4 separate regions of the Homo sapiens genome follow, and regions 1, 2 and 3 are each linked to region 4. Evidence: promoter capture Hi-C in human tissues and cell types (Jung and others, 2019). All regions are on one chromosome and are shown on one strand. Each heading gives the region's core, a stretch centred on a gene start or on the middle of the fragment in contact. The rest is flanking DNA. Distances are from core to core; before and after follow the strand shown. Region 1 holds the start of APOL4 (apolipoprotein L4). Region 2 overlaps APOL2 (apolipoprotein L2). Region 3 has its middle 17 kb from the start of APOL4. Region 4 holds the start of FOXRED2 (FAD dependent oxidoreductase domain containing 2).

Region 1 (5,951 bases), core at 2,323-4,822, 310 kb after region 4:
ATCACTTGAGGCCTGGAGTTCAAGAGTAGCCCAGTCAATATAGTGAGACACCATCTCTAATATAACTTTTTTAAAAATTAGCTGGGTGGTTGGCTGATGCCTGTAGAAACAGCTACTCAGGAGGCTCAGGTGGGAGGATGGCTTGAGCCCAGGGGTTTGAAACTGCAGTGCACTATGACTGTGGCGGTGCACTTCAGCCTTGGCTACAGAGTGAGACCCTGTCTCCAGAACAAAACCAAAATAACCCCAATGGCCTTACAATAAATATACAATAAGGATCCACTTGGCATGTGTAGGAGACTGTGCAAATGCTGATGGTATGGGCAGGAGTAAGGCAGGCATCAGGGGAATGTGGAAGCACGGGAGGACGGGGAGTAATCTGAAGGGTCCCACAGTATGTCAGTGGCAGGTCTTTCTTCCTGAAGACTATAGCAGACCCCCAACCCCGAGGATGCCAGGCAGGTGGGTTGGATGAAAGAGACCTGGAGGTCTGGTCTCAGGCTGCTCCTCTAAGCGCAGCAGCAAGGAGGGTGGGGCTGGACTGCAGGAGGTGCTGGGGAGCAGCGTGTTTGCTGTGCTTGATTGTGAGCTGCTGGGAAGTTGTGACTTTCATTTTACCTTTCGAATTCCTGGGTATATCTTGGGGGCTGGAGGACGTGTCTGGTTATTATATAGGTGCACAGCTGGAGGTGAGATCCACACAGCTCAGACCAGCTGGATCTTGCTCAGTCTCTGTCAGAGGAAGATCCCTTGGTAAGTTGGGGATGGTGTGACCTCCCTCCATCTCCTTATTCTCGCAATAGCTCTATGAGGGAAGGATCATTCAGCTTTTGTAGATAAGCTCGGAGAGGTTAGGTAACTCGTTCAGATCAGACAGGAAAGCAGTGGTAGAGCCGGGATTTGCACCCAGGCTTGAGTCTGATTGCTCCCTCCCTCCTGCTGGGCCCTTAAACCGTAGAGAGAGGTGGGGAAATAGCTCAGATGGGTTCACAAAGCTCTCTGGGCTCAGCTCTGTTTTAGACTGCTGAGACATGGCCAGGTGACCCCAGAAGGAAGGTTTGTGTTGGGGGTGCCCATCTCTTTGGGAAATTTGAAGGAATCAAAGAAGGTGGAGGTGGGGAGGTGACCTGGAGCCCGGTCTGTCCTTATGGTCTGGCCACAACCAGGCTGGCCCCGGGGTGCGGCTGCTGAGGCCTGATGAGGCAAGAGATTTCTTTTGAGATACAAGGAACCTAGAGGTCATCTCACCCACCCTGAGTCTGAGCACCTACTTGTGCCAGGCCCTGTGGGGAAACTGAGGCCCTGGGAGGGGAGTGACTTGCCCAGGGTCCAGTGTCAGGAGGCTGAGCAGGTAGATCATAGGACTCCATGTCTGTGGCCCTCACCTCTGTCCCTCTGTTCAGACCTCTGGGGTGATGGAGAAGAAACAGGCTGTGCTGTGTCCCTAATGGGAAACTGTAGGGAGACCCCCTGAAACTATTGCTACGGAATAAAAGATGAAATGCTCCTGATTATTGTAAATACAAAATTGCATGCAGGATTGTGTAAAGACAATGCCAGGTTGGACTGCCAGAACGAACCAACAGCACGTGATGTGCTTCCCCCTGCAGAGAGCCTATGAATGGATGCAGGGGGGCGCCTGTCCATATGGACAAGCTAGGGCTATAAATGCTATCATCTTGCCGTGGCTCTTCTAGGCATCTTTAGGGTTCAGGTATACTCCCTTCTGAGAATTTCTAGTCTAACCGGTTATCTAGCTTCACGTCCTGTTTCCATGGATTGTCAGTAACCAGCTTTTGTTGCAATTGTTACTGCTGATTAATATCTTGCTAATCATAGGTTATGGAAAGATTGTGTTTCTGTTTTAAGGCTCTGTTAGAAATTACTGACGCACACACTATATTGTAAATTCTTATCTCTGTATACTGTACTTCTACATACAAATGCACTGTACTTCTACATACGAATGTTATGTTAAAGAATTACTTCATCCCCATGTGACCATCCCACCTCGTAATCAAATGACCCTAAATCCCTCACTAACCTACCCCCGCCCTCACTAAACTGAATAATAAATGCTGGTATATCCAGTGCATTGTTGACCAGAAGGCGGTGACCCCCCTGGACCCAGCTTTCACTATCTTGTGTGTGTCTATTATTTCTCAACCTGCCGATCCGCCTAGGAGCAAAGAGAGAGCCCCGTTGCACTGGGGGCTGCTGGCCAGATCCCGCAATAGGAAACATGGCTGAGACAGGGGAGTGAGAAGGTCGCATTGCAGAATGGTGCCTGTGGCATGACGCCAGCTTTGTAATCATGAGATTCAAAAGCCACCTGTGGAATTGTGAGTGTAACTACAGGAGTGAGAGCTTAGATCTCTGTGTTTGTAGAAGCAGAATCAAACCTGGACACTGTTGGATTACTAAAATCACCCGTTTTTCTTCAATAGCAGAGTCACAAGGGCAGATGTTGGCTTCCCGTCTGCTCTCCAAGAGCTGTGCGACTCTGGGCAAGTCACCTCCCCTCCCAGCCTAAGATTTTCCCCTCTCAGAAACCTGATAGAGCTGCCAAAAGTCCATGAAATCAGGGGGGTAATTTCTGTGAAATCTGAGTCGTGGTCTTATTTTTCTTTTTCTTTTTTTTTTTTTCTTTTTTCTGAGATGGAGTCTCGCTCTGTTGCCCAGGCTGGAGTGCAGTGGCGCAATCTCTGCTCACTGCAAGCTCCGCCTCCCGGGTTCACACCATTCTCCTGCCTCAGCCTCCCGAGTAGCTGGGACTACAGGCGCCCGCCACTACACTCGGCTAATTTTTGTATTTTTAGTAGAGATGGGGTTTCACCATGTTAGCCAGGATGGTCTCCATCTCCTGACCTTGTGATCTGCCTGCCTCGGCCTCCCAAAGTGCTGGGATTACAGGCGTGAGCCACCGCTCCCGGCCTGATTTTTCTTCACCAAAAAGAGATGCCCATCAAGATAGAAAGCACTATAGCTGAAGCCTGTAATCCCAGTGCTGTGGGAGGCAGAGGCGGGAAGATCACTTGAGGCCAGGAGTTCAAGACAGCCTGAGAAACACAGGAGATGCTGTCTCTATGAAATCAAAAATTAACAAATTAGCCCAGCATGGTAGCGTGCACCTGTAGTCCCAGCTACTCAGAAGGTTGAAGGAGGAAGATCACTTGAGCCCAGCAGATCTAGGCAGCAATGAGCTAGGATGGCGTCAAAGCCCTGCAGCCTGGGTGACACAGCAAAACGGTTTATTAAAAATGAAATGAAAATGGTGATTTCTCAGGAGGAGCACACTGTCTCAACCCCTCTTTTCCTGCCCAAGGAGGAGGCCCCGCAGCGACATGGAGGGAGCTGCTTTGCTGAAAATCTTTGTCGTCTGCATCTGGTGAGCTTGGCTCAGAGCCCTGAGGTGGGAGGGAGGGCTCCCTGTCTGGGCTGCACAATTGGGCAGGGCTTGGGCTGGGCCAGGAGCCATGTGGGTTTTTCTAGGAACCAAAATCACTTCCCGGAATTGACCAACTGGTAGACTCGCCTAGAGGGGACGCACTGTGTCCTAGTTGAGGCTAACAGTCAGTATCCAGCCTCAACATTCAGCAGAGGCCCCAGATCAGCGTCTGAGCCAGGCCAACAATGACCAAGGAGGATGGGATCCTGGGTGCAGCTCATCACAAGCGTCGGGTGAGTCCGAGGCCCCAGCTCTCTGCCCTCCTGCTCCTCTGCTCTCTCCTGGTCCTCCCAGTTCTACTGGCTCATGGTGTTGAGATGGTTGCCTTGGCCTAGGGGGTCACACAGTGAACAAAGCAGGAAGAAGGCGAAGGGATGCCCCTCTCCTGTCACCCCTGTCCCTTACAGCAAGAAGCGCCCAGACGCCCCTCTGCATACTCCCCTGGTGAATGCTGCCCAGGACTGGGTCCCCCTTTTACCCTTGTTGCATGGGGGCCCCAGAAGACAGACATCTGTGTGTCTGAACCCTGAGACAAAGGCAGGAAAGGGAAAGAGGGAGGCGAGTGGCTTTTGAGGAGGGGGCTTTAGTATGAGAGCTGGAGGATGGAACCCCATCAGGGGGCCCGGGAACCACTGAGCTGTTAAAATAAAGTCTGCAAACAAAGACCAGCTGCTGGAAGTGGGTGTGCCAGGGAGTGCGCAGAGACACACGGTGAGAAAAGAACAATGGTAATGCTTGGAGCCGCCCCTAACTGGGATGGGCCTGAAATGGTATTGTTATTATTTATAGTATCATTATTAGTCATTTTCATCTTATTTGTACCCTCCCTCTATCTCTCCTCTCCACCTTTTCCTAACATTCTATCACCAGTTTTATGTCTTCCATTAGCAACTTTGTAGCTGTAAACAATTTACTTACAACTTTCTTATACCCTCAGTTGTACCCAGTATTTCTTAACTTCCATCTTTAAAAAATGACAATATTAATCCTCCTTCTCCTTTGTTCAGTGCTTCACATCTCAACTGCTACCTTCGTGCCTTAAAGTTTGTACTAATTGGTATTGATAACAAGATATTTAGTTCTCAAATTTACATGTTGTGTATATATTTTTTGTCCTGATAAAGAGACTACTGAGAGCCAGTAAGACTGAAAGAATGGGCATCTTCATATACTGCTAGTTTGAGTGTGAATTGGTACAATTTGCATGTAGTGTGGCTCTAGGTATAAAACATTTTGAGATGTTGATACCCTCTGACCTAGTCATTCTACTCCTACAAATATCTTAAGGAAATAAAATCAAATGTGGGCAGTTTTACGTGAAGGAGGGTGTTCTTTGTAGCATAATTTACATGAAGAATTAGAAACACCCTAAGGTCCATCAGCTAGGGGAGGACAGCAGAGGGAACAGGGCAGCGCCAGGAGGGCTCGGCAGCCACAGCAGGGGCTAGGCCGGCATCTGGCAGGATCCAGGTCTTTGTGGGACAAAGGATCTTAGAGAAGCAAGGGGGACACAGGCTGTCCACTGCAGCACCAGTGAATTCACCAAGACGAAAAGTTGAGCACGGAGTGTGAGACATGGATTTGCAATGAGGAGTCATTTACCATGAGCGTGTATACATGACTCAATATTGTATATTTAAGGGAGTAGAGCACAGTCATTGAAGACATGAGGTTGAAGCAGAAGTCCTGGCTCTAGCAATAGAAAACACTGGCAAGTTCCCTAACTTTTGTGGATTCCTCTGTGTTCAAATGGGAAAGTGGTACCCATCTCCCGGGCTGTGTGTGATCATTGAATGAGACACATGTCAGAAGCCCTGCACATCACAGGCCCGGCGCGACCGCTCACGCCTGTAATCCCAGCACTTTGGGAGGCCGAGACGGGCTGATCATGAGGTCAGGAGATCGAGACCATCCTGGCTAACACGGTGAAACCCCTTCTCTACTGAAAATACAAAAAATTAGCCGAATGTGGCGACGGGCACCTGTAGTCCCAGCTACTCGAGAGGCTGAGGCAAGAGAATGGCGTGAACCTGGGAGGCGGCGCTTGCAGTGAGCCGAGATCGCGCCACTGCACTCCACCTGGACGACAGAGCGAGACTCCGTCTCAAAAAATATAAATAAATAAAAATAAAAATAAAAAAAGAAGCCCTGCACATCACAGACACTCAATACAGACTGGCTATCATCAATTAGTTGTCACACATGTTTCCGGTCATTGTTAGAACGTTCCTTCCCATCTCTATTTCTGCGTATAGACTGTGTAGTTTCTGTAATGATCAGATGGCTGCCCCTCCTCTGATTATCTTCTCCTCATTCTCCAACAGGACAAGCGGACTTTTCCTTGGTGTGAGAGTGAGGGAAGAGGGAGCTGGAATGAGTTGAGTGTCTGTAAATAGCAGATGATGGGGACTTGGTGATAGAGAAAGAATCTGGGTTAGGTTGGTCTTGGCATTTGCTGCCACCTCAGAGGGATCTGCAGAGGCCCAGCTGTTCAAGCCTCCCT
Region 2 (5,753 bases), core at 2,449-4,948, 280 kb after region 4:
CTGTTATGCTCCCCTACACTATCCTCCAACCTTATCCTTTCTTCTTTCCAACTAGAGAGCAGTATCTTTATTGAGGATTACCTTAAGTATTTCCAGGACCAAGTGAGCAGAGAGAATCTGCTACAACTGCTGACTGATGATGAAGCCTGGAATGGATTCGTGGCTGCTGCTGAACTGCCCAGGTAAGCTCCATGGGGTTAACTCCATGGGGCGCCCCAGCGATGCCACTCAGATCTCCCCTGGGCTGGTTGTCCCTGACAGGCACACCTCCTCCAGGCAGCCCCCTCTGCTGGGCTTGAGGATGACCTTCTCGGCACTCCAGGAGGAATATTTCCTCCATGTCCTTCGCTGGCAGTGAGTAGCCTCAGGCTGAGGGGATAGGAAGCCCACAGGAACAGGGTCATTTCTGCCATCTGCTGGTGATGGGAACTTTGCCAGTTACTTTCTCACTTTCAGCCTTTCTTCATCAATGGAGTTTTATTATGAGAAAAATGAGATCATGCATGTAAAGTGCTTAGCATAATGACTGACACATAGTAGGTGCACAGTTAACGTTAACATCTTACAAGCTTGGTGGAAAGAGACCAGGGTTAAGGATCTTCTTCTTGAAGATGGGAGCCCAGCAGGACTTCCTTTGGGAAAAGTCAGAAAAATCCTAACCTAAACAATATGTGTTCCTGGGGATGCTGGCTGGGGCCTTTTTTCTCATCTGAAGAATTCCACAAACACAGCAGGACCCTTCTGCTGGTCCAGGATCCTGAGAGGCCTAGTTCCTGGGCTCTGGGCTTATGTCATGGAGACTTGGAACTGTCTTCTGTCCAATAGGAATAGCAATTCAATGTCATAGGAGTGTGGTGAAGGCCTTAGAGGCAACTCCAGGTCAAAGGTGGGGAACCAAGGACTAAGATCCTGCTCAAAGGCCCAGAGAGACCGGGACCAGTGTCAGAGCCTGGAGTCAGGATGGAGTAAGAGTCAGCCTTGGTTTGGTAGGACAAGCAGGAAGGCTGGGGCACCAGGGCTGGGACTAGGGTGTGGAAAGAGAGGCACCAAGGGCTTGAAACTTAAGGAGGTCATGAACTTGCAGAGGACATGTGAGTGGGAGAGGGATATTTCTTCCCTGTCTGGATGATCCCAACACTCATGGGCATACAGGGTCATGGTAGCCTGTGTCTCTCACCCCATGCCTTGGAACTGGTGAGTTCTGGACTACCCTTTCAGACCTTCTTCTCTTCTACACAGAGAAGCTCCTTACCATGGCATGCCTTAGTGACCATTTCCAAAGTAGAATGAGTTGCTGCCAATTTGTGTAATTTCAGGGGTACTGAGCAGACTCACAAAGTCCCAACCGAGGAGGAAAACACTTCCTCTACCATCTTGACCAAATTCAGGTCTTTTCAGCATTAGCAATTTATATAGATGGTTCTGAAAGTGTCTTGAGTCTTCTAGTGGTTCCATAAAATTGCACATGGCCTTGCTGTGCACACAGGTGAAGCTGTCACTGCTAAGGCATCAGTTAGGCTGGTGACACCTGCGAGTGAGACCTGGAAGGTTGGGGGTGCAGGTGGTAGGTCAGGAGGCAGTAAGGTGGCTGGAGCGTCCATGTGGAGCCAGAATGAATAGCCAGATCTCCCACTCCAGTCAGCTGGGGCAGTGGCCGCACCCAGTAGCCTTCAGCCAGGTGAAAGGGCATGAGGCATTGGAAGGGAGCAGATGCCAGGCAAAGTGATCTCCTGTCTTTCTGAGGTTTTGTTTTTGTTTGAATTCAAAGTACTCAGAGATAGCCAGACTGCAATGTCTGAGGGCACCCTTACCTTTGACACCACCTGCAAATCTATGGGGATTCCTAAAATCATCCTTAGATTTTATAATTCACTAGAAGGACTCACGTAACTCACTGAAAACTGCTATTGCACGATTGTGGTTTATCACAGGGAAAGAACACAGATTAAAATCAGCCTAAGGAAGAGACACACAGGGCAGAGTCTGGGAGGATTTCAGGTGTGAATCTTCATTGTCCTCAGGAGGCTGTGTTCTCCTGTGTGAATGTGGGACAAAACACATGCGGTGTTGCCAACCAGGGAAGCTCACCCAGTTAAGGAAAAATTCCTGTGAATCACATTAAACCAGAAATGAAGCCTTTATTCAGGATTGTTGTTACAGGGGAGGGAGACTGAGCCCAGCTCCAAATATAGTAAAGACAGAGGGGGAGTCACAGCCAACACCAGGGTGGGGGCGGGAGATGGAACAGGACTGACAGGAGACGCCAGAGTGGGGGGTTCCTGCTAAACTGGCCTAACAGGATTCTCGCCAAAGGCAGGTCAGACCCTCAACCACCAGTGGTGGGGGTGAGGAGCATGATCAGATAACAAACGGTGCTCAGACAGCAAGCGGGGAGGACCCTCCCTAAACTGATTTGGGGAGATTCTTGCTGAGCCAAGGTGGTGCAAGTCCAGAAAGCAGTGGGTGAGTGTGGAAGGCCAAGGTCGGCGCCTAGTGGAGAAGAAGCTCTGAAGAGCCCAGCTGGAGTTGGTCAAGGAGAAAGTCCTTCTTTCTCAACCCATGCCTTAGTGTCCAGAGTATCTGCTGGGGCTGGATCACAAGCTGCCCTCATGGCTAGAGTCTCCAGCCCTTCCCTGAGATCTCACACCTTTAGTCCCCAAGTCCTCTGGAAGTCAGGAAAGACACCAAATAGCCCCAAACCCTATCATCCATCACATCGCTATACTGTCCCGTGGCCAAATCACCAGGCAAAGAAAGATGTTCCTACCAGGCAGGACATTCCAGGGGCCTGGAGATCACTTCCCAGGAGCTGAGGACAAAGGGAAGGCCTCTCTTTGGGTAAAGTTCATGCTTCACTTTCCTGCCATCCTGGTAATAAGGTCTCTTTGTCTCACTCTCACTGCTCTTTGTTCATCTGCAGAGTTTTCCCTCTCCAAACACTTTGGCAGTCACGGTGTTGACCTGCCCTTGAGTGAGGAGGCATCTTTATCAAACACCTACCATGAAAGAGCATCTGAGGTGCCTTTAAGATATTTATTTCCATATGGAATAAGTACTGAGGAATATCTATGATGAACAAAATGTGTTTGAGTTTGAAAGATAATTAATTCCATTTGTAAAATTTGTTTCTATTTGATTGATAGTGAAAGCTCTGCAATTTACACAGGATAGAGATCGCATGGAGCTCATTTCACAGATAGGGAAACTGCATTTCTTAATCCTTTAACCTTTCCTTGTGCAGGGATGAGGCAGATGAGCTCCGTAAAGCTCTGAACAAGCTTGCAAGTCACATGGTCATGAAGGACAAAAACCGCCACGATAAAGACCAGCAGCACAGGCAGTGGTTTTTGAAAGAGTTTCCTCGGTTGAAAAGGGAGCTTGAGGATCACATAAGGAAGCTCCGTGCCCTTGCAGAGGAGGTTGAGCAGGTCCACAGAGGCACCACCATTGCCAATGTGGTGTCCAACTCTGTTGGCACTACCTCTGGCATCCTGACCCTCCTCGGCCTGGGTCTGGCACCCTTCACAGAAGGAATCAGTTTTGTGCTCTTGGACACTGGCATGGGTCTGGGAGCAGCAGCTGCTGTGGCTGGGATTACCTGCAGTGTGGTAGAACTAGTAAACAAATTGCGGGCACGAGCCCAAGCCCGCAACTTGGACCAAAGCGGCACCAATGTAGCAAAGGTGATGAAGGAGTTTGTGGGTGGGAACACACCCAATGTTCTTACCTTAGTTGACAATTGGTACCAAGTCACACAAGGGATTGGGAGGAACATCCGTGCCATCAGACGAGCCAGAGCCAACCCTCAGTTAGGAGCGTATGCCCCACCCCCGCATGTCATTGGGCGAATCTCAGCTGAAGGCGGTGAACAGGTTGAGAGGGTTGTTGAAGGCCCCGCCCAGGCAATGAGCAGAGGAACCATGATCGTGGGTGCAGCCACTGGAGGCATCTTGCTTCTGCTGGATGTGGTCAGCCTTGCATATGAGTCAAAGCACTTGCTTGAGGGGGCAAAGTCAGAGTCAGCTGAGGAGCTGAAGAAGCGGGCTCAGGAGCTGGAGGGGAAGCTCAACTTTCTCACCAAGATCCATGAGATGCTGCAGCCAGGCCAAGACCAATGACCCCAGAGCAGTGCAGCCACCAGGGCAGAAATGCCGGGCACAGGCCAGGACAAAATGCAGACTTTTTTTTTTTTTTTTTTTTTTTTTTGAGATGGAGTCTCGCTCTATCGCCCAGGATGGAGTGCAGTGGCTCAATCTCGGCTCACTGCAAACTCCGCCTCCCGGGTTCACACCATTCTCCGGCCTCAGTCTCCCGAGTAGCTGGGACTACAGGCACCTGCCACCACGCCCGGCTAATTTTTTTGTATTTTCACTGGAGACGGGGTTTCACTGTGTTAGCCACGATGGTCTCCATCTCCTGACCTCGTGATCTGCCCACCTCGGCCTCCCAAAGTGCTGGGATTACAGGCGTGAGCCACCGCGCCTGGCCAAAATGCAGACATTTTATTAGGGGGATAAGGAGGGCAAGGTAAAGCTTATGGAACTGAGTGTTAGTGACTTTGGCATTTGTGTAGCTGAGCACAGCAAGGGAGGGGTTAATGCAGATGGCAAGTGCACCAAGGAGAAGGCAGGAACACTGGAGCCTGCAATAAGGGAGGAGAGAGGACTGGAGAGTGTGGGGAATGGGAAGAAGTAGTTTACTTTGGACTAAAGAATATATTGGGCGAAGAATAGAGGGGGAGCTTGCAGGAACCAGCAATGAGAAGGCCAGGAAAAGAAAGAGCTGAAAATGGAGAAAACCAGAGTTAGAACTGTTGGATACAGGAGAAGAAACAGCAGCTCCACTACCGACCCCCCCCCAGGTTTGATGTCCTTCCAAGAATAAAGTCTTTCCCTGGTGATGGTCTCTCGCTCTGTCTTTCCAGCATCCACTCTCCCTTGTCCTTCTGGGGGTGTATCACAGTCAGCCAGTGGCTTCTTCATGATGGTGGTTGGGGTGGTTGTCATGTGACGGGTCCCCTCCAGGTTACTAAAGGGTGCATGTCCCCTGCTTGAACCCTGAGAGGCAGGTGGTAGGCCATGGCCACAATCCCCAGCTGAGGAGCAGGTGTCCCTGAGAACCCAAACTTCCCAGAGAGTATCTGAGAACCAACCAATGAAAACAGTCCCATCGCTCTTAGCCGGTAAGTAAACAGTCAGAAGATTAGCATGAAAGCAGTTTAGCATTGGGAGGAAGCACAGATCTCTAGAGCTGTCCTGTCGCTGCCCAGGATTGACCTGTGTGTAAGTCCCAATAAACTCACCTACTCACCAAGCTGGACTTGTTCGAGTCATTCTTTGGTCTCTCAGCTCCTTCTAAGCTTTGGGGGCCATCAGTCTCAAGTTTTTCTCGTAATGGTGGTGATGGTGGTTGTGATGGCAGCAGAGTGGTGGGGGCCTTGGCAAGTGGTCGGTGCTCTTCCAGACCAGGGGACACCGATGGACCGATGAAGTTCCAGGGGAACTTGAAGTGCTGTGTTGGAAAGAGGTTAATTTGGGAAGAAAGGAAAAATGAAAGGAGATGCCAGGAACAGGTCAAGGAAGCTTGAGGTGTGTCCAGGAGTTCAACCCTGCTTGTGGTCATGAGACTTCACCCCTCTGAGCCTCAGTTTCCTCATCAGCTGTAGAAGGGGGCTGGAAAAGGTGATATCTCAGGTCCACCTTGCTCTCCCCATCTTGTGTTCTGGAGACTTGAGTCAATCAGCACTGACTGAT
Region 3 (6,200 bases), core at 1,128-3,627, 320 kb after region 4:
ATAGAATATAGAACTGCTGGGCGCCTCAGCTGGAGCCCAGAGCAGGGGCAAGAGATACAGAATGCACAAAATCACCCCAGAACCTCTCCTAAGTCACTCGTAAAGTGCACCCAGGGCCTACTTAGTCCTTTTTTATGTAGCATCCTGCAGAACACTTGCCTCAGTCCCTGTAACTCTCCATCAGCCAAGGCTTCCCTGACCTTCAGTTGATTCATCTATTTCTTCCTGAAGAAGTCAACAGAGCAACGGCCACCGACTTGCCTAACGCCAGAACATTGTGTTTCATTTGTCTGTCAATTGTTCATCAATTCCTGGATAATTCCCATTCTTTTCATACATTTCACTTAAGCTTTGAATGTTTCTGGCACTGAGTAATTTACTTCTTCAGTGATCCAGCCAGCATTTGCCCTGACACTTAGAGTTGAAATGCCATCAGGCTACCTGCATTTGATGCAATTCCACTGTACTGCTAGTATTGTTTAAAAATTTTTCAATTGCAAGCAACAGAAACAGAAACTATCTGTCTTAAACAAAATAGAAGATTCATTGGATGAAAACTAGAGCAGGTCAGAGGATGGAAGGAAGAACAAAATCTACAGAATTTGGAAGGACAGGAGCAGACCATTACCAACATCAGGAATATATGGTTTGCCCTTTCAGGGCTCTGCCTGCACCTGGCTTAGCTCCACACACTTTGATTCCTAGTGTCTCTGATTAAAGTTTCACATTCTCAAATGAGAGGATAGCTTGGGTCAGTGACTGTTCTTGAACCAATCAGTCAGGCTATGGTATCAGGAACAGCGATGAGTAACAGAGACACAAACCCTAATGGGAAGCCTCTGGCCAAACAGTCACCTGAATTTGTGCTTATTGTATATAGTCAACTGCTTGCTACCACACACACGTACCCTTCTTCTCATACAAACAAAAAGAACCCTTTTCGACTGGGCACAGTGGCTCACGCCTGTAATCCCAGCACTTCGCGTGGTTGCAGCGGGCGGATCATTTGAGTTCAGGAGTTCAAGACCAGCATGGCCAACATGATGAAACCCCGTCTCTACTAAAAATACAAAAATTAGCCAGGCATGGTGATACATGCCTGTAATCCCAGCTACTCAGGAGGCTGAAGCAGGAGAATTGCTTGAATCCGGGAGGCAGAGCTTGCAGCGAGCTGAGATCACGCCACTGCAGTCCAGCCTGGTGAAAGAGCGAAACTCCGTCTCGAAAAACAAACAAAAAACTCTCTTTACCTGTTATGAATCCAGCCATCCGAACGACAAAGACAAATGCACTTGCTTCTTCTCCAAAGAGAGCCACACACACCATCGCCCTCTTCTGCATGCTGAAGTTATGTCACAGGAGGAAGGCCTCGGCACACTGTCAATTTTTCTCTTGGTCCATTGGCAGCTCCTATCTCAGCATTTTCTGTGTGTATATTTGTAGGAAACAGAGAGGTGCGGTCAAGGCTACAACCACCACTGACCATTGCTGCCACCGTCACAAGTCTTTGACTGTTCCACTCAATGTTCCTCTTACTTATGGGCGAAGTCATTCTTGTGGGGTCTAAGCTCCTTGATGGTCTGGCCTCAGTAAGGTGGTGAAATTTCCTATTCACCTTTACAACTTGTTAGAGTATTACAAGGAGCAATCCTAGGGGATCCCTCGATTCCTCATGTCCTGCTGTGTAGTAACAACATGAGCTTCCCTGGATGATCATGATCCATGATTATATCTAACCCAGTGACGTCATTGCTATCCCTACATCAGGGAGCATGAGAAGCCAGCTATGGGCACCTCTGAAACCACTTTTGTCAGCCTTGCAGGAGGCATTCCCACCTTAGATACTGAAACTTCTAGACTTAAAAGTCTCTGAGTTAGGGGTATTGTAAACAAGATTTTTGAAAGTGACTTATTGTTTGTAACCATAGAGCTATCACCCTCATCTTAACCTCTTACTGTCCAGCTCCATAAATTCTGGCTATCACAGGAAATGAGGTAAATTTTGGGTATGAATTCAAAACATAGCACATCCTAAAGGCAGTTCCCAGCCTCTGACATGGAACTGAGTCCCCTTCGGGCCATTTCCATGCTCTCTAAGGCTGTGACTTCCGGGGTTGAGATTCACTGGACGATGCCAAGTGCTCAGCCTTGAGGAGGGATCCGTGTTGCGTGGTTACACCGAGCTCCACATCACGCACCTGGTTATGGAGCCCATTCTGAAAATACCGGGCCGCCCTGGGAACAGAGGAGACTTGCAGCCACAAAAGTGACTTCTTCCCTGTATATGAGTCTCTTGAGAGTGGAGACTTTCTAGTCAGTATTCACATGGGACAGGGGTAGTTTTTTTCTCTTTCTTTTTTTTGCTCTGGGCTCATTCTAAAATCTTTATCTGTATACCTCTTCCCTAAATATCTTTGTCACCAAGCCTCCAGACGTATTCCTTCTAAAATGCTGAACTTACAGCCAAATCCTCAACTGTTACCCAGCAAACAAGGCAGATCCTTCCCGAGGACACCTCTCCTTCCAGGCAGCCTGGACTGTGAGGTGTGCTCCACTGCTCTTCAGGAACCATCCCTGAGAGGTGTTCCACAGCAGGCCAGGCCTGGTGGGAGCAGGTGGGCCAGGAGGAAAGCACAGCAGAATTTGAGAGATGTTGAGTACTCATAACTCAGTGTAAGCACCTGCATTCAGCCCTCATGGTCTGTGAGTTATGTATCTCTATTTAGTTTTCACAAATTAGAGTTAGGGGTCTGCCTTGTACAATCAAAGATGTCAATATTTAGAACCAAGAGATGGAACAAACTTGTTTCACAGCAGGGAACTCTTCCGCATCTATTTTCCTCTTCCTACTTTGGGCGTTTGCCAGCATGTGTAGTCATAGAGAGAGGCTGGGCCCATTTCCCTCTGTGATTCTAAGGCAAGTAGATTCTCCCACTCCCTACCCCCACTCTGGCATCCAGGGCTCCTGTCCAAGAGCTAGGCTGGCTAATTGGCTGCTTCCACATGGGATTCTGAAACTGGAGCAAGTGAGGCAAAGCCCAGGGTGCTTAGAACCCATTCTCAGTGAGAGCAGCAGGACTGCCCAGGAGGAGAATAGAGAAGAGGGCGACCGAGTCCTGCACCTGCAGAGATGATGTCCGCAGGTGGCGGGGCAGCGCTGTGGCCGTGTCACTCCTCACAAAGCAGGGCTCTTGTGCTCGCAGCCTTGATACCGTGTCACTGTCTTGGCTTCTTTTTATCTTCCAAGCCAAACTCCAGCCTCCTCTGCAGGTGGGGCTCTTCTGATATGATTCCAGTGAATTTCATGTTGTTTTCTGCCCTTAAAAACCAGAGATGGTACCTCTGCTTGACCAAGAAGCCTGATTGATAGAGACTGAGAGCTGCAGGCTGTGTTTATTTGCTTCATTAACAAGAACACCTTAGGAATGGCAGCTTCTACTGATGAGCTTCCTGCTTTGTTCTGCTGTTGGAAGACAAACAGTTGTTTCCCTGCTGACGACTGGCTGCATTGAAGAGGTGAACAGGTGAGTCACAGGAATCACTGCTTCTGCTCCCTTTAAACCTTGATGATGGCAGCAATCTCTCTAACTCCTCCATGAATTTGCTGTTGACTCTGATTAAAATATTTAGGCAGGTATGTAAAACCAACGGCTTCCACCGGCGTCTGTCACTGAAATAGTCATCATCCGTGGGTCTACGTGAACAATCTGAAGCTTCCAAGAATATGCATTCCAGTTATCCACCCAGGAATTTAAAAAATAATAACCAGGTGATAGACTTATTGAAAAGTAAACTGAAATCAGATATTCATTCATTACTTGTTCCCTGTAACCCCCCCTCTGACTGGAACACCACAGTGGCACTCTGGGTCATTATGGGTCCCAGGAATTGGTGTCAGTCTGGATGGGATCCAACAGTCCTGGGGATGGGTTTCCTTTAAGCCGTCCCCTGTGATCTGAGGGGACGCTCCAGGTCCAGGGAGAACAGGTAGGAGGAACGCTCACAGGCTGCACTTATGGGAAATGACGGGGCCTTTTGCAGACTCCTGGCCTCCCTTTCCTTCAAGGGCTCTGGGTCTGTGCTATGAGTCAGGCCTGAGAATTGAGTGACAAGCAGGGGCCATCCAGCATGATGACCTGTGACAGGTGCCTGCTCACCAGACTGGGGGTTTTGCGAAGTCAGTAGACTGTCCACCAGCTCTGTTGCTGGATTCTGCATGTGGAACGTCCCTGAGCCCAGATCATGCGCCCTCCCTGCTTCTTGACCTGGTGTCCACACTCTTTTCTTCTGGCCACCACCTGCCTCACCCTAGGGTTTGCCTCTTGGAATTTCTCCCACCCTAAAGAGACCAGGGTCCTAGCCCCTCCCCCATTCTAGAGAGCTCTAGAGAATATCCACTGATTCTTCTCATCAAAGGAAAGGGGAATCTCCTGGGCCCTGGCAGCACACAGTCAGGGCAGAAAGCGCCTGAGAAATCCAGTCTAACCCTCCGGTCTCCTATACACTTGACTCCTTCTTCTTTATCATGCCAGGTAATTTCTGGCCTTTTGGTGTCATAGAGAGGTGGCCAGCATTTACTCAAGGGTTGCATGGCCAGTCCTGGGCACAATTAGAATCTAAGCCAGCTGTTGGGGCGAAGTGTGTTAGCTCATGACAACTATGGAAAGGAATCCACATGATGCTCCCCTTTCCTTGCCAACCTCCCTCAGACCCCACCCTGCAAATGGTCTCCGGCTCTTTGGAGCTTTGACAGCGAGCTCCTTCTGCTGCAGCGCCTCACTCCTTTCCATTCTGCAGTTCAGTCTTGGGCCACAATGACTTGAACGCAGGCTGTCTAGAAACAGAGAGTGGGGCAGGAGCAGACAGGAACAGAGTTGGAGCAGCTTCCTCTAGCGGGGCCTGTACCTCAGAAAAGCCCTTAGACATGGCTACGAGTTGGGATTCTTCAAACTCCTTGATATCCCCATCGTAATTTTCTTGATGCAACTTGTTTTAGGCTGAATAACAGCCCCCTACAGATGTGCATGTCCTAACCCTGGGACTTGCGATTATATCACCTTCCATCATAAAAGGGACCTTGCAGTTATCGTCCAGATAAGGATCTGGAGATGGGAGATTATTTGGGATTCTTTAAGTGGGTCCAATGTAACCACAAGGGTCCTTCTAAGGCAGAGACAGTAGGGTGAGAGGGAGAAAAGGAGATGAGATGATAGAAGGGGAGAGAGACTGGGAGAGATCGGAGGATGCTACAAGGCTGACTTTGAAGAGGAAGGAAGGAGACAGGAGCCAAGGCCAGCAGTTTCCTCCAAGAGCTGGAAGAGGCAATGGAATGGCTTCTTCTTCCAGAGCCTCCAGAAGGAACGCAGCTCTGCCCACACCTTGATTTTAGGACTTCTGAGCTCCAGAAGAACTTCGTGTTGGTTTGAGCCACTGTGTCTGTGGTGCTTTGTTACAGCAGGGGAGGAGCTAACACACCACTCTCTCCCTATCAGGGCCCTCATGTGCGCTTAGAAGATCTGGCGAGGACGAAATTTATCATGTAACCAGAAACCTACAGAATTTGCTTTTCATAGGAAAGTCAGCCAAAAATATCAACAGCCACAATTTATCAGACGCCTTCAGGAAAAATGTCAAAGCCAGGCATTTGTCTGAAGTGACCTATCCTGCTTCAGGTCCCAGCGTTCCTTGCCCCTTTCCACAAGATGACAGCAGGTGCTCCCCGGAATGCTGGGGTTGGGGGTGGCTCACTGTTGCTCTGCCCTCCTCTCAGCCTGAAAACTTATTCCAAATATGCCAATCATCTGAGGGCCTGTGATCTGCAACCAACTCTTTGGGACAATGTTTGTATCAGTTAACATTTTTTTTTTGAAGCAAGGAGAGCGCAAAGCAAAACAAAGTCAAAAGCAAATGCAAGAACAAAAGTGAAGCGAAAGCTTTTTAAAATCCTCTGGCTAACTCTGCAGTAGAGACATGTATTGGAAGAATCCAGAGAGAAAGCTCACAGAATTAAATAAATAAAGAAATCTATGGGTGTGCACACACACATGTATGGACAGACACACACACACACACACACACACACACACACACACAGGCAATTTTAAAGCCAGGTTTAGGGAAGACCAGGGATCCGGAAAGCCTCAGGGGTGTCAGCAGTGGGAAACCAGCTCCTCTTCAGGCCTCAGCTCCACTGCCTGCTG
Region 4 (5,887 bases), core at 3,133-5,632:
AACCTTGATAAAACTTCGAGAATTCCCTGAGACTTAAGTATGAAGAAGCATTCACTTTGGCTCCAAGAGCTTCTTCTAGAGCCTTTAGATCACATCAAGTGGTTGGGGAGGATAGCGGTGTTTTAGAGAAGCGGCTGGACTGTGGCAGAGGTAGAGGAAGATGAGGGAAGTCCCAGATTGAAGCCGGTGGTCTAGAGGGAAAAGCTCCGCTCCGGGTTAAATAGCCTGAAAGTTGTCTCTCCTGCTCCACCAGCTGGTGACTGAAGGAAATACCTGCCCAGCCCTGTGAGCATCTGAAAGGCTTAACTTCGGAATGGAAGTGTTGAAAACTCACGCACAGTCCAGCAGAGGTTCAGAAAGGAAAGTGAACATCATATCACACAACCTGGCTCATTTCTCTTACATTTTTTGTGTCTTTCAGAGGAAGAAACTTAAACCAGTGATGTGGAGCTGGAGTTTGTCCTTCCACCGAGACTACGAGGGCCTTTGATGCTTAGTGGAATGTGTGTCTAACTTGCTCTCTGACATTTAGCAGATGAAATAAAATATATATCTGTTTAGTCTTTCCCTCATCGTCTGCCTGCATTAACGATTTACAGTCGTTTCTTCAAAGATTCCTGACAGAGTGGGGATGAGATTCAGCAATTTCTATGTGGAATTCAGAATCTGGGTGTCCTCATTTGTTATAAGAAGTCCATTTCCACAAGCATGAGTGCCTGCTGGCTGTGTGAAGGGCCACCTGTTGCTTTTGGAGAGTTCACTGTGAGGAGCTGGAGTGCAGAGCACTAGTACAGCGTGAAGCAGGGTGTGGGTGAGGTGGGGCTGCTGCGCCTGAGGGAGGCTGCCACAGAGAGCTTGATGGATGTCCCACTGGGTGATTGTGTAATGGTTTATGAATTGTTTTTAAGCTTGGCTTGGGCTGGTGACACTCAGGCCTGTCCCTACAAAGCATTGTGTCATAAGAGCTCTGCATGTTGAGGATATGTAAACTTTTTTTTTTTTTTTTTTTTTTTTTGAGACGGAATCTCACTTTGTTGCCCAGGCTGGAGTGCAGTAGCATGATCTCGGCTCACTGCAACCTCCACCTCCCAGGTTCAAGCGATCCTCCTGCCTCAGCCCCCCAGTAGCTGGGATTACAGGCATGCACCACCATGCCTGGCTAATTTTTGTATTTTTAGTAGAGACGGGGTTTCGCCATATGGGTCAGGATGGTCTCGAACTCCTGACCTCAGGTGATCTACCCGCCTTGGCCTCCCAAAGTGCTGAGATTACAGGCGTGAGCCACCGCACCCAGCCGAGGCTATGTAAACTATGTAAGTGGACACTGTTCTGTTCTGGACACTTGATGGAGTAATTACCCTGCCAGGTATTAATGCTGAGCTTTCTGTAGTATCTAAGCCTCATACAGAACTGTGATGCTGGCAGGAGTAGTACCATTGTAGAGGTGAGGAAACAGGCATGGTGGCTCAAACCTCTAATCCCAACACTTTGAGAGGCTGAGGCAGAAGGATCACTTTAGCCTAGAAGTTTGAGACCAGCCTGGGCAACACAGGGAGACCAGGGCCTGTCTCTGCAAAAAAATAAATTATTAGCCAGTCATGATGCTTCCACCTGTGGTCCCAGCTACTCAGGAGGCTGAGGTGGGAGGATTGCTTGAGCCCAGGAGTTCAAGGCTGCAGTGAGCTATGATCACACCACTGCACTCCAGCCTAAGTGACAGAAGGAGACCCTTTATCAAAAAAAAAAAGGCCAGGTGCAGTGGCTCATGCCTGTAATCCCAGCACTTTGGGAGGCCGAGGTGGGTGGATCACTTGAGGTCAGGAGTTCAAAACCAGCCTGAGCAACATAGCAAAACCCCGTCTCTACTAAAAATACAAAACAGCCAGGCATGGTGGCACACGCCTGTAATTCCAGCTACTTGGGAGGCTGAGGCTGGAGATTCACTCGAACCCAGGAGGCGGAGGTTGCAGTGAACTGAGATCACACCACTGCACTCCAATTTGGATTACAGAGACTCTCAAAAAAAGCTCAGCATTTCTAAAGTTACAGGTTTTTTTTTTAAAGTAGCTTGAAAAAACACAAAATTAATTTTAATGAATCGAACCTCAGCAAGCAAAAGGTTTCTTGAACTGTGTTAGAAGCAGTGGAGAGAAAAAGTGTACTTGGGGAGTTTTCAATGTGAATACAGAGTGTTAAAAAACAGATTAAAGTGGTGTGACTAGTGCCGGGGGTTTCCAGGTTGGACCAGTATTCACCAAATTGCCTCTTGCAAACCATGGCCCTGTCCAACAGGATTAACAGAAGCAAGTGGAAGTGACTCAAGCTCATTCCCTGAAAATACTTTGCATCAGTTTCCACTGCCTTTTTTTTTTTTTTTTTTTTTTTTGAGACGGAGTCTTGCTCTGTTGCCCAGGCTGGAGTGCAGTGGCGCAATCTCAGGCACTGTAAGCTCCGCCTCCTGGGTTCACGCCATTCTCCTGCCTCAGCCTCCCGAGTAGCTGTCCACTGCTTTTATCTGTCCTGCATGGGGCTACCAAGTTGACTGCTGCAGTAATCCTACATTCAGAAACTCCCAGTAGCATCCTGTTGCTTACAATCTAGGTTCAGCCTACTCGTAGGGCCCTACCATACTTGACGAATTCTGTTTAATTTCCCACTACTGTATTCACCACATAAGACCAGCAATTATTTTAGGAACTTGTTTGCCAGCACCCATTCTCATAATCTTCACAACCACTAAGAAACAGACATCCCCAAATTGCATGACTATCAAAACATCTCATATGCCCCATAAATATATACACATATGCCCCCAAAAATTTTTTTGAAAAATTGGCCAGGGGCCATGGCACACACTTGTAATCCCTAGCACTTTGGGAGGCTGAAGCAGGATCGCTTGAGCCTGGAAGGTCAGGGCTGCAGTGAGCCATGATTGTGTCACTGCACTCCAGCCTGGGTGACAGTGAGACTCTGTCTCAAAAAGAAGAAATAAGACATCCCTACTTTATTTTTGGCAAAGTATTCTGCCTGACCTCTCTGGTTGCAATGCTTATTCAACAAATGCTTAAACTTCCGTATGTCAGATACTGGACAATTTCTGCTCTGAGGGAGCTTTTCTCTGATGTTGACACAGACTGAAGAAAGTAAATGACATTCGGCCAGGCGCGGTGGCTCACGCCTGTAATCCCAGCACTTTGGGAGGCCGAGGCGGGCGGATCACGAGGTCAGGAGATCGAGACCATCCTGGCTAACACAGTGAAACCCTGTCTCTACTAAAAATACAAAAAATTAGCCGGGTGTGGTGGCGGGCACCTGTAGTCCCAGCTACTAGGGAGGCTGGGGCAGAAAAATGGCGTGAACCTGGGAGGTGGAGCTTGCAGTGAGCCGAGATCACGCCACTGCACTCCAGCCTGGGCGACAGAGTGAGACTCCATCTCAAAAAAAAAAAAAAAAGAAAAAGTAAATGACATTCTTTGGTAGGTACTTGTAGGCCTGAGAGGTCAGGAAAATTTTTCTAAGGAGTCCCCAGCTACGATTTTTAATTCAAAGAATCTCCAGCCATGCAAATCTGCAGGCTCGCAGTTCTTTCCACCTGCCCTTCCCCCAAGAACACTCAGCCCCATTTCACTGGACTTTGAAGGTTCCTACACTGACTTCGTATTTCTCCCCATGTAAATCTCATGCAGGGGCCACTTGCCACCCCTGGGAAGCCAACCTTCATCATCCAGTTCACGTTATCTTCCTCCTGCCATTTATCTTGCCTCCACTGAGTTTTAATTCCAGGCTCCACTTCCTGTGATTGTAAACATATCCCTTCATCCCTATGTCTCCATTTGACCAGTCAGCTACCAAATGTCGGAAACAATGCCTTGCCCACCTCTCCTATTTGGTGGAAGATTAGGACAGTCGTGTATGTTACTTGGTAAGCAGTACACTGAGTCACTGTAGCAAACGCTTGTTAATTGGCTTATCGGTCCTGGCTCCACCACGCTGGTTTCCAGTCCCACAAAACTGGGTAGGCCAACTAGTTTTAGCGTTTGGCTACATTCATGGAATATGAGAGCTAGGATTAGCTCCAAAAATCACGTGCTCCCCTCCCTCCGTGTAGAGAGGCACCTTTTAAAACGAAGGACCCAGTTCCCCATCCCGGATCTCCAGACCTTCCACCCTCGCGGGTGCGCGCTAGCCCCAGGCCCCTCTACCAGCCCCCGGAGCAGCGAACGCAGCACGCGCGCGCCTCTCCCGCGCTGGGCCGGAGCAGGCAGCCTGCCAGCTGGTCCCGGCGTGCCGCGCGCCGCGCACGTGACCCCGCCCCCTGCCATTGGTCCGGGCGCGAGGGGCGGAGCCGCCGCGGAGCAAGCGAGCCAAGCGCGGCCTCATTAGACCACGGGTTGCAGCCGGAGCGGCTGGGAGGTTCGCGCGTTTCTCAGGGTTCGGTCGGAGGCGGGGAGGCCGGAGCTGCGGGCGTAGGGACCTGGCGGCTCCTGAAGCGCACGCGGGCGGGCGGCAGGTGTGCGCGGCATCCCTGTCACGTGGCCGAAGAGCCTGGGGCGCGCGGACCCTGGCAGGGGGCGGGGCGCACGCAGGCCACACCCACTTCAGGCTCCCACCCGGTCGCTGGAGAGGGGCCAAGGCCTCTGGAAGGTCCAACCTGGAGGGTGGTTCAAAGGGGTGTTGGGCACCCTCAAATTAGGGGAAAATTGGGGAGTACGCTCTCCTTCCCCAGGGTGGAGGTTACTACAATCATAAGCGGGGAGCCGGTGCCCCTGAGGAAGGAGACCCTGAGGGAGATAAGATGGAGGGGCTCGGGATTCCGGGGAGCCCCAAGTCCCAGCTTGAAACGGTGGAGTCCGGGCAAATGAGCTCTGAGGACGGCTTCTGGGCCTGGCCGTGACCCAGATTGCAGTGAGAGTTCCCGCAGGCCCCGCCTCTTTCTGGGCCTCGTGTCTCCCAGCCGCCGGGCCGGGTGCGAGGCCTTACCCCTCTGATCTGCTGCAGGATGGGCCTCTCCGCTGCGGCCCCGTTGTGGGGTCCCCCGGGGCTGCTCCTGGCCATCGCCCTGCACCCAGCGCTGTCGGTGCCCCCGCGCCGGGACTACTGCGTGCTGGGCGCTGGGCCCGCGGGCCTGCAGATGGCCTACTTCCTGCAGCGCGCTGGACGCGACTACGCAGTGTTCGAGCGGGCCCCGCGGCCCGGCAGCTTCTTCACACGCTACCCGCGGCACCGCAAGCTCATCAGCATCAACAAGCGGTACACGGGCAAGGCTAACGCCGAGTTCAACCTCCGCCACGACTGGAACTCTCTGCTCAGCCACGACCCCCGGCTGCTCTTCAGACACTACTCGCGTGCCTACTTCCCCGACGCCCGCGACATGGTGCGCTACCTGGGTGACTTCGCGGACACGCTGGGGCTCCGTGTCCAGTACAACACCACCATCGCCCACGTCACTCTGGACAAGGACCGACAGGCCTGGAATGGCCACTACTTCATCCTAACTGACCAGAAGGGCCAGGTGCATCAGTGCAGGTAAGGCCGGTGCCAGAGCTCACCTGCGGAAGCTGGGACCTTCCCCACACGAACCACACACCTTGATTGGCCAGTAGGTATGGGAGGAATGGACGAAAAAGGGTATTTCGCTTTTTTTTTTTTTTAAGACGGAGTCTCACTCTGTCGCCCAGGCTGGAGTGCAATGGCACGAGGTCAGCTCACTGCAACCTCCGCCTCTCTAGTTCAAGCGATTCTCCTGCCTCAGCCTCCCCAGTAGCTGGGATTACAGGCAAGCACCACCACACCCGGCTAATTTTTTTATATTTTTGGTGGAGATGAGATTTCACGACGTTGGCCAGGCTGGTCTCGAACTCCTGACCTCAGGAGATCCACCCACCTC

Evidence for each region. Contacts are between HindIII fragments. The study calls those that stand out against the background at their distance.
Region 1: a contact is called between the fragment with the promoter of APOL4 here and the fragment with the promoter of FOXRED2 in region 4, in 9 of the 25 tissues and cell types used here (IMR-90 fibroblasts, adrenal gland, aorta and 6 more).
Region 2: a contact is called between a fragment that was not itself captured here and the fragment with the promoter of FOXRED2 in region 4, in 2 of the 25 tissues and cell types used here (bladder and spleen).
Region 3: a fragment that was not itself captured here is called in contact with the fragment with the promoter of FOXRED2 in region 4 in 3 of the 25 tissues and cell types used here (lymphoblastoid cells, mesenchymal stem cells and thymus).

The regions. Positions count from the first base shown.
Region 1 is chr22:36,199,430-36,205,380 of GRCh38, reverse strand. APOL4 (apolipoprotein L4) reads left to right here and starts at 3,572. Exons shown (of 4, transcript NM_001386885.1): 1 at 3,572-3,681. The coding sequence starts at 3,647. RefSeq lists an enhancer at 3,097-3,596. The HindIII fragment of the contact is 28,208 bases long and covers 1-5,951 here.
Region 2 is chr22:36,225,769-36,231,521 of GRCh38, reverse strand. It overlaps APOL2 (apolipoprotein L2), which reads left to right. Exons shown (of 5, transcript NM_030882.4): 4 at 56-182; 5 at 3,242-5,313. The coding sequence ends at 4,118. Among named protein-coding and RNA genes, the nearest start is that of APOL2, 11 kb to the left of the region's middle. RefSeq lists an enhancer at 3,681-4,359. The HindIII fragment of the contact is 3,547 bases long and covers 1,925-5,471 here.
Region 3 is chr22:36,181,574-36,187,773 of GRCh38, reverse strand. No RefSeq gene overlaps it. Among named protein-coding and RNA genes, the nearest start is that of APOL4, 17 kb to the left of the region's middle. The HindIII fragment of the contact is 4,893 bases long and covers 1-4,823 here.
Region 4 is chr22:36,505,535-36,511,421 of GRCh38, reverse strand. It overlaps FOXRED2 (FAD dependent oxidoreductase domain containing 2), which reads left to right and starts at 4,382. Exons shown (of 9, transcript NM_001102371.2): 1 at 4,382-4,413; 2 at 4,999-5,526. The coding sequence starts at 5,000. It overlaps EIF3D (eukaryotic translation initiation factor 3 subunit D), which reads left to right. Exons shown (of 15, transcript NM_003753.4): 15 at 422-567. The coding sequence ends at 435. RefSeq lists an enhancer at 1-78 and a silencer at 4,136-4,635. The HindIII fragment of the contact is 18,149 bases long and covers 1-5,887 here.